Linked DNA regions of Homo sapiens: region 2 is linked to region 1. The links are contacts of gene promoters, found by promoter capture Hi-C in blood cells and fetal thymus (Javierre and others, 2016). All regions are on one chromosome and are shown on one strand. Each heading gives the region's core, a stretch centred on a gene start or on the middle of the fragment in contact. The rest is flanking DNA. Distances are from core to core; before and after follow the strand shown.

Region 1 (3,171 bases), core at 103-2,602:
TGAGGCACCGGACTCACGTCACCCCCACAGCCGAGGAAACTGCCACAGCTGCCTATTATCAGGCTCATTTTTAAGGTACTCACATTGTAGCAGAGAAACATCAACCAGTAATTGCAATACAAGGTCTGATGTGGAGCTGCACACGTGTTTATTTAACAATAATGAAGATACCCTGCGGATGATTTTGGCCAAATCACCATTCCAGCAAAACAAAAAAATCTGAGTCACACACCTGCTTAAAATAACTACAGCAAAAGAAATCCATTTGGTGAAACCACCCTTCAAAAAGTTCACGTTTCCAGCCCATACCTGTGCTTTGCTTCCTGTTGGGCCGCATCACCAGGATCCTGGAAAAAAAAAACTTAAATTTAATAGAGAAATTTCACGGGAGGCGGCGGGAAAAAGGAACGGTTCTGTTGTTTCCTATACATAACAGTCTCTTGCGGTGGTAGAAACAACTCCCCAAATAAGAAACTGGGCCTCACAGAAATCAATGAACTAGTTCCCACTTACAACGTTTTGATGAACGTCTAAAACCACAACCTCAGAAGGCTTTGGAATACAGAGCACCCTGGGGAGGGGAATCCCTGTATTACGAAACCGTGTTTCACATGTAGGAATAATTTCTGGAAAATAAAACGGGCCTCGGTATTAGGGACAACGATAACTCAAAGACTGCGCCCTCCGTCCCTAAGGTCCCGGTCCCTTATCAGAAACGCCTCTCCGGGCGTGTGATCCATCCAAGCTTCCCAGGCGGCCCCTCCCTGTCATCCCGGCGGGGCAAGCGTTCCTCCGACCCTGCCGCGCTCTCAGCACCGGGAACACAGCGGACCCTCAATACCTGTCGGCTAAACTTGGGTCATAACAACTGAACTCCGGAAAAACTGAATTCGGTCCGGCTGCTGGCTCCAAAAGCTGAGATTGTGCTTGGATCCAGGCCCGCCAGGACGAGCCCGCTCCAGGCTAGGGGACCCCACACCCCAACGCCAGGGCAGGTCCCGCACGTGGCGGCCCCCGCCGCCAGCCTCCTGGGCCCCTCGCGACGAGGAAAGCGACGAGGCCACCTCTGAGCCGGCCACGAGGCCGCCAGGGCAGCGCAGGGGACCGGGGCCCCGGGGAGGCGCCCAGAGCCTCCGCCCCGGAGGCGCGCCCTACACTCCGGGCGAGGGCGGCGCCCCGCGAGGGCCAAGCCTGGCGGGGGCTGATGCGCTCACCCCGTGTTTGGCCTGCAGCTCGGCCAGCCTCTGTCTCCTCAGCGCCTCAAGCTCCTCGTCCGCCATGGCTCGGCGTCAGCGCTGGAGCAGCCGCGGTCACTCTCGCAGCCCCTCGGCGCGAGCGCGGCCTTGACCACTGCGCAGGCGCTCGCGGGGCCCAGGCGCCACCAATCCAGCCCGGAGCCACGCCCCGCGCCGCTGCCAGGGCGCCGGCAGAGGCCCGATTCCCCGATTTCAGGCGGTCGAGCTTGGGCGCACGGAGGGGCGGGGCCTGGGGCGGGGCCTCCGGGATCCACCTCCCACCCGTGATCGGCGCCTCTGCGTGCAGGGACTTGGGCTGCGCTGGGGCGGGGCTGCGCTTTGGAAAGGTTAAAACCTGAAAGTGTGGCATCAACAAGTATAATAATTATGGGTGCAATGTGCTGGTGACCTAGAGGGTTAGGCGTATATTATCTCTATTTATAGATGAGGAACCAGGGGCGCAGGAAGGCTGAGTGGGGTGATGGAAATGTCCTAAAGCTGGATCGTGGCGGTGGCTGCCCGGCTCCTCGGTGCACACAGAGGCCGGCCGGTGGCTCGCCGCCTGTGGTCCCGACGCTTCGGGAGGCGGTAGGGTCATTTGAGGTCAGGAGTTAGAGACCAGCCTGGGCAATATGGCAAGAGCCTATCTCTACTAAAATTTTAAAAAACTAGTTGGGCGCGGTGATGTGCACCTGTAGTCCCAGCTACTCAGGAGGCTGTGTCAGGAGGATCGCTGGAGCCCGGAAGTTCGAGGCTGCAGTGAGCCTTGATCTCGCCACTGCACTCCAGCCTGGGAGACACAGCCAGACCCTGTCTCTAAAAAAAAAAAAAAAAAAAAAAAAAGTGCACATCTGCCTCCTCGCCATCTGCCTCCTCCACGCACAAAAGGGCTTTTCCTGGGAGGATACTGCAGTGGGCAGCTGTGGCTGGTGTAAACTCTTTGGTGGAACAAATCCCTTCTGCCTTTGACTTGGGGGAATTGGGGGCAGAGAGGATATTCAGCTACCTAAACGTGTGACTCATACAGATTCTGTTTGTTTGTCTGTGTGTGTGTTATTTTATTTTTTACATTAAAAAAATACAGATGGGGTCTCGCTATGTTGCCTAGGCTGGCCTCTATCTCCTGAGCTCAAGCAATCCTTTTGCCTCAGCCTCCCAAACTGCTAACATTACAGGCATGAGCCACCACACCTGGCCTGTGTGTTTTAATTGTGGCAAAATATACACAATACAAAATTTACCATTTTCACCATTTTTAGGTGTACTTTTCAGTGGTATGAAATGCATTATCGTGCAGTTGTCACTCAATCTCAGCTCACTGCAACCTCCACCTCCCGGGTTCAAGCGATTCTCCTGCATCAGTCTCCCAAGTAGCTGGGACCACAGGCGTGCACCACTGTGCCCGGCTAATTTTGTATTTTTTAGTAGAGATGGGGTTTCACCATGTTGGTCAAGCTGGTCTCGAACTTCTGACCTAAAGTGATCCACCTGCCTTGGTCTCCCAAAGTGCTGGGATTACAGGCATGAACCACCTTGTCCACCATCAATCTCTACAACTTTTTTTTTTTATCATCCTGAACTGGAACTCTACCCAGTAAAGATTTAGGTTGGTGTGAGGGGCCTCTAATGGGAATGGGTGGGGGTGGGAGGGGTCTGAGAATAATAATCAGTCTCCACCCATTCTCATTCTAGTTTCTATGAATTTGCCTATTCTGGGTATCTTGTATATGTGGAATCATACAATATTTGTCCTTTTGTGACTGGCTTACTCCACCTAGCATATGTCTTAAAGGTTCATTCATGTTGTAGCATGTGGCAGAATTTCTTTCCCTCTTTAGACTGAATATATTCCATTGTATGGATATACCTAGCACATTTTGTTTATCCATTCATCTGACAATGGACACTTAGGTTGCATCCACCTTTTGGCTATTAT
Region 2 (3,314 bases), core at 761-3,260, 1.2 Mb after region 1:
CGTACCCCACAACTCCGAGCGCTCCTGCGCGCGGAAAGGCGCTGGAGGCGGCTTTATAGCCGGGGAGGCCAGCGGCGGCGCATCTGCATCCTGGGAGACGTCTGGACCCAGCCCAAGCCCGCAGGCTGGGCGAGCGGAGACTTTTGATCTTACCGTGTGGGTGAGATCACTGTCTCCCGGTCTAAAAGAAAAGAAAGCATGCTGTGAACTTTTGAAACAAACTTGCAAAAACAGTCGTAGAGAAAAAATAAAAAGGACACAGGGCAGAAAAAGAGGGAGAAAGAGACTAAAAAAAGAAAAAGATAAGGGGAGGGGGAAGGAAGGAAGGAGAGAAGGAGGAAGAAGTCTGGGGTTTGCTGCTCCAGGAGCGCTCAGGCAGCCGGTGCTGGAGCGCGGGGCGCCCGCCCTCGCCGGGACTGTCGGCCTCGGGGCCTGCGAGAGCGCCAGAGCCCCAGCCGGCGCGCCCGGGCGCAGGGCCGCCTCGGGGATAGTGGGCCCGGAGGCCGCCCCCGCGCTCCAGCAGCCGCCGCCCGGCAGCGCCCGGAGCCGGCCCCGGCGCGGCCGCCCCATTCCCGGCCTGAGAGCTGGCCCAGGGAGACGCAATCGAGCCCGCAGCGCATCGATGCGCCGCCGCCCGCGCCGCTCGGGCTCCGGCTCCCGCTCAGCCGCCGCCGCCCGGGGGTCGCCCGCATGAGCTCCGGCCCACCCGCGCCCTCACCGCCGCCCGTAAGTGAGCCCGCGTCGCCCCGCCGCCCACGCCGCCCAGCCAGCTCCTTCTTGCCGCGGCCAGTCGGCCGGGCCGGCCCGGAGCCTCAGCGACCCCGATCACCAATCAATAATCAATCCCTCTAGTCCAGCAGCCCCGGCAGGCCGGGCGCGGGACACGGCGCGGCGGCCCCCTAGGCTCTCGGGGGGAGCCCCTGGCGGGGGATGGGCAGGGGAGCCCGGTTTCCTTCTCCCGCCCCCGTCCCGCCCTAGGATCGGCCCGCGCCGTGGATGGGGGGCGCGGCCCGGCTCCCGGGGGCGAGGGGCGGGGTGGAGGGACCCTGATCATCCCAAAGTCAGGAGAGGAAACTTGAAGGAACCCCCTCCCACACCGACCCCCGGGACGGGCCCAGGAAAGTTTGTCCGGGGAAAAAAAATTGGGGGAAGTGGCTACGGCGGGTCCTGGGGGAGGAGCTGGGTGGCGCGGGGTCTGAGGGCTGCCCCCACCCGCCCCGGCCCGCGCCCGCCTCCTCCCTGGAGGGGGCCTGCCCGTGGGCTCTGGCTTCCCCGGGGGACGCCAGCCCCGGCCCGGGGACCACGCTGGGGGCTCCGGAGTCGGCGGGTGGAGAGGAGTGCGAGCCGGGTGGGGCAGCTGGGGGGTGGCTGGGGACGAACGCTGGGTGGGAATAGGGGTGGGGGGTAACGAGCGCCCCGGGACGGGCTCGGCGGGGCTGGCGCCGCGCCCCCGCGTGTGCGCACGGGGCGGAGGCGGAGGGGCGGCACCCCTTTCGCTGGCGGGGCGGGGGTCCCACGCGGGCCTGGGGCCGGGGGCGGGGGCGCGGCGCCCCCGCGGGCGGGCGATTGACACGATCATCTCCTTTTCCTTTAAGCTTGCCTGTTGCCGACGCCGCCGCTCCAGCCGCGCCACGGGCAGAAGACTGGACCGCCGAGCCCCGGGCCGCGGCGGCGGCTGCGCGTCCCCCCGGATGCCGTGACCCCCGGCCTAGGGGCGGGGGCCGGGGCAGTACCGGTCCGGGCCGCTCCCGCGCTCCTCCTCCCACCGCTCTGCCCGCCCTCTCCCCGCCCCCCAGCCCCGAACCCCGCGCACCTCGTCTGGGGACGGGGCGGGGGGGGGCAGGGCCGCCGCTCCTCCCCGCCCCCTCCTCCTCTGGCCTCTGGAGCGATTTGTCAAACTTCCCATTCCGCCGGCAGCGCGGTCCTCCTCCTCCTCCTCCACCTCCTCCTCCTCTGCCTCCTCCTCCCCCCCGTGCTCCTCCCTCCCCGAGCCTCCCTCGCCCGCCCTCCTTCTTCCCTCCGCACGTTCGGGGTTCGCGGCGGAGCGCGGCGCGGGGGGGACGCGGAGAGCCTGGGCGCAGCAGCATCCTGCGGGCGGCCGCTCTCCGGGGGGGAGGCTGAGAGCAGGCCCGCCTCGCCCCCCCGCGGGCCCGCCGCCCCCTCCCTCCCTGTCCTCAGCCCGGCAGCGGCGGCGGCGGCGGCAGTGGCAGTCGCCGGAGAAGCATCATGCCGAGGAGGAAGCAGCAGGCGCCCCGGCGCGCAGCAGGTACGAGCCGCTTCCCCTTCCTTCTGCTCTCCTCCTCCTCTTCCTCCGCTCGCCCCGCGCCTCCAGCGGGCGCGACCCCGCTCCTCGCCCCGCTCTTCTGCCCGCACTGAGTAACTCCGGGCGCCGCTCTCCTGTTTGGGTGCGTGCGCCCGCCTCGGGTACCGGGCGCCCCCCGGACGCCCCGCCGCGCTCTGCCCTCTTCCCTCTCGCACCCATTTGGGGAGCCGCTCGCGGAGCGCGCTGAGCCGCGCCAGGTCCCTACCTCCTCAGCTCTCCGGCTGCAGAGGGAATGGGAAGCAACCCCGGCCTGGCTCTTTCTGTGGGTGGCGGGCGGGGTCACCTGAGTTCCCCGGGACATCTTCCGCGTCCTCCGAGCGGCCGACCGCCGGGGGACTGCCTGGTGTCCGCCGAGCCAGGGAGCGCGAACGAGTGAGCGAGCCGGTCCCCTCGGCCACCTTAGTACTAACACGATTGATTCCTCATTTCTTGGGCCCAAACTGGGCACAGCGGTGGAACCCGGAGCGCACAGGGTCTGGGTATTGTCAGATGACTGTCAAGTCCATGTTAGATGCTGGCGTTTCCTTCTCCCCTGTTTGTGTTTCCTCGCCCCCACCCCCTCCTTGTACTGCTGCTCCCACCCTCATCTCCGCATAGCACTTAGTTCTGGGACGTGTCTGAGTACTTTTTTGTTCCTCCTTTTTTTTTTTTTTTCTTCTTCTTTAACCGGGAGTGTCAACTCCTGTTAAGACTGAGCCGATTTTTTTCTTTTCTTTTCTGGAAAACGCATCATTGAAAACAAAACAAAAACCACACACATAACATTATTTTGCAATAATGTCGGTTGGGGGCATGTTGCCTGGAAGAAGGGTTTCTGGCCCGTTGCCATCCTTGATTTGATGACTGATTGATCGCCCGTCATGCTGCTGCCTTTGATCTATTCATTCCCAATAAACATCAATAAATCACTTGCAATAGTGAGGCCAAGCTCTGTGACGTCAGGAGGGCCCTGTCAGTGCAACTTTGGGATTTGGGGCGGATTGCCGAGAGG

Evidence for each region. Contacts are between HindIII fragments. The CHiCAGO score rates a contact against its expected background, and 5 or more counts as called.
Region 2: the fragment with the promoter of TSHZ3 here is called in contact with the fragment with the promoter of PDCD5 in region 1 in 2 of 17 cell types (M2 macrophages and monocytes); the score reaches 6.4 in M2 macrophages.

Annotation. Positions count from the first base shown.
Region 1 is chr19:32,579,371-32,582,541 of GRCh38, reverse strand. It overlaps PDCD5 (programmed cell death 5), which reads right to left and starts at 1,352. Exons shown (of 6, transcript NM_004708.4): 1 at 1,215-1,352; 2 at 310-347. The coding sequence starts at 1,280. RefSeq lists silencers at 1,351-1,527, 873-1,602 and an enhancer at 1,813-1,902. The HindIII fragment of the contact is 4,450 bases long and covers 748-3,171 here.
Region 2 is chr19:31,348,132-31,351,445 of GRCh38, reverse strand. It overlaps TSHZ3 (teashirt zinc finger homeobox 3), which reads left to right and starts at 2,010. Exons shown (of 2, transcript NM_020856.4): 1 at 2,010-2,266. The coding sequence starts at 2,227. TSHZ3-AS1 (TSHZ3 antisense RNA 1) reads right to left here. Exons shown (of 3, transcript XR_002958388.2): 1 at 2,529-3,314. The HindIII fragment of the contact is 11,306 bases long and covers 1,598-3,314 here.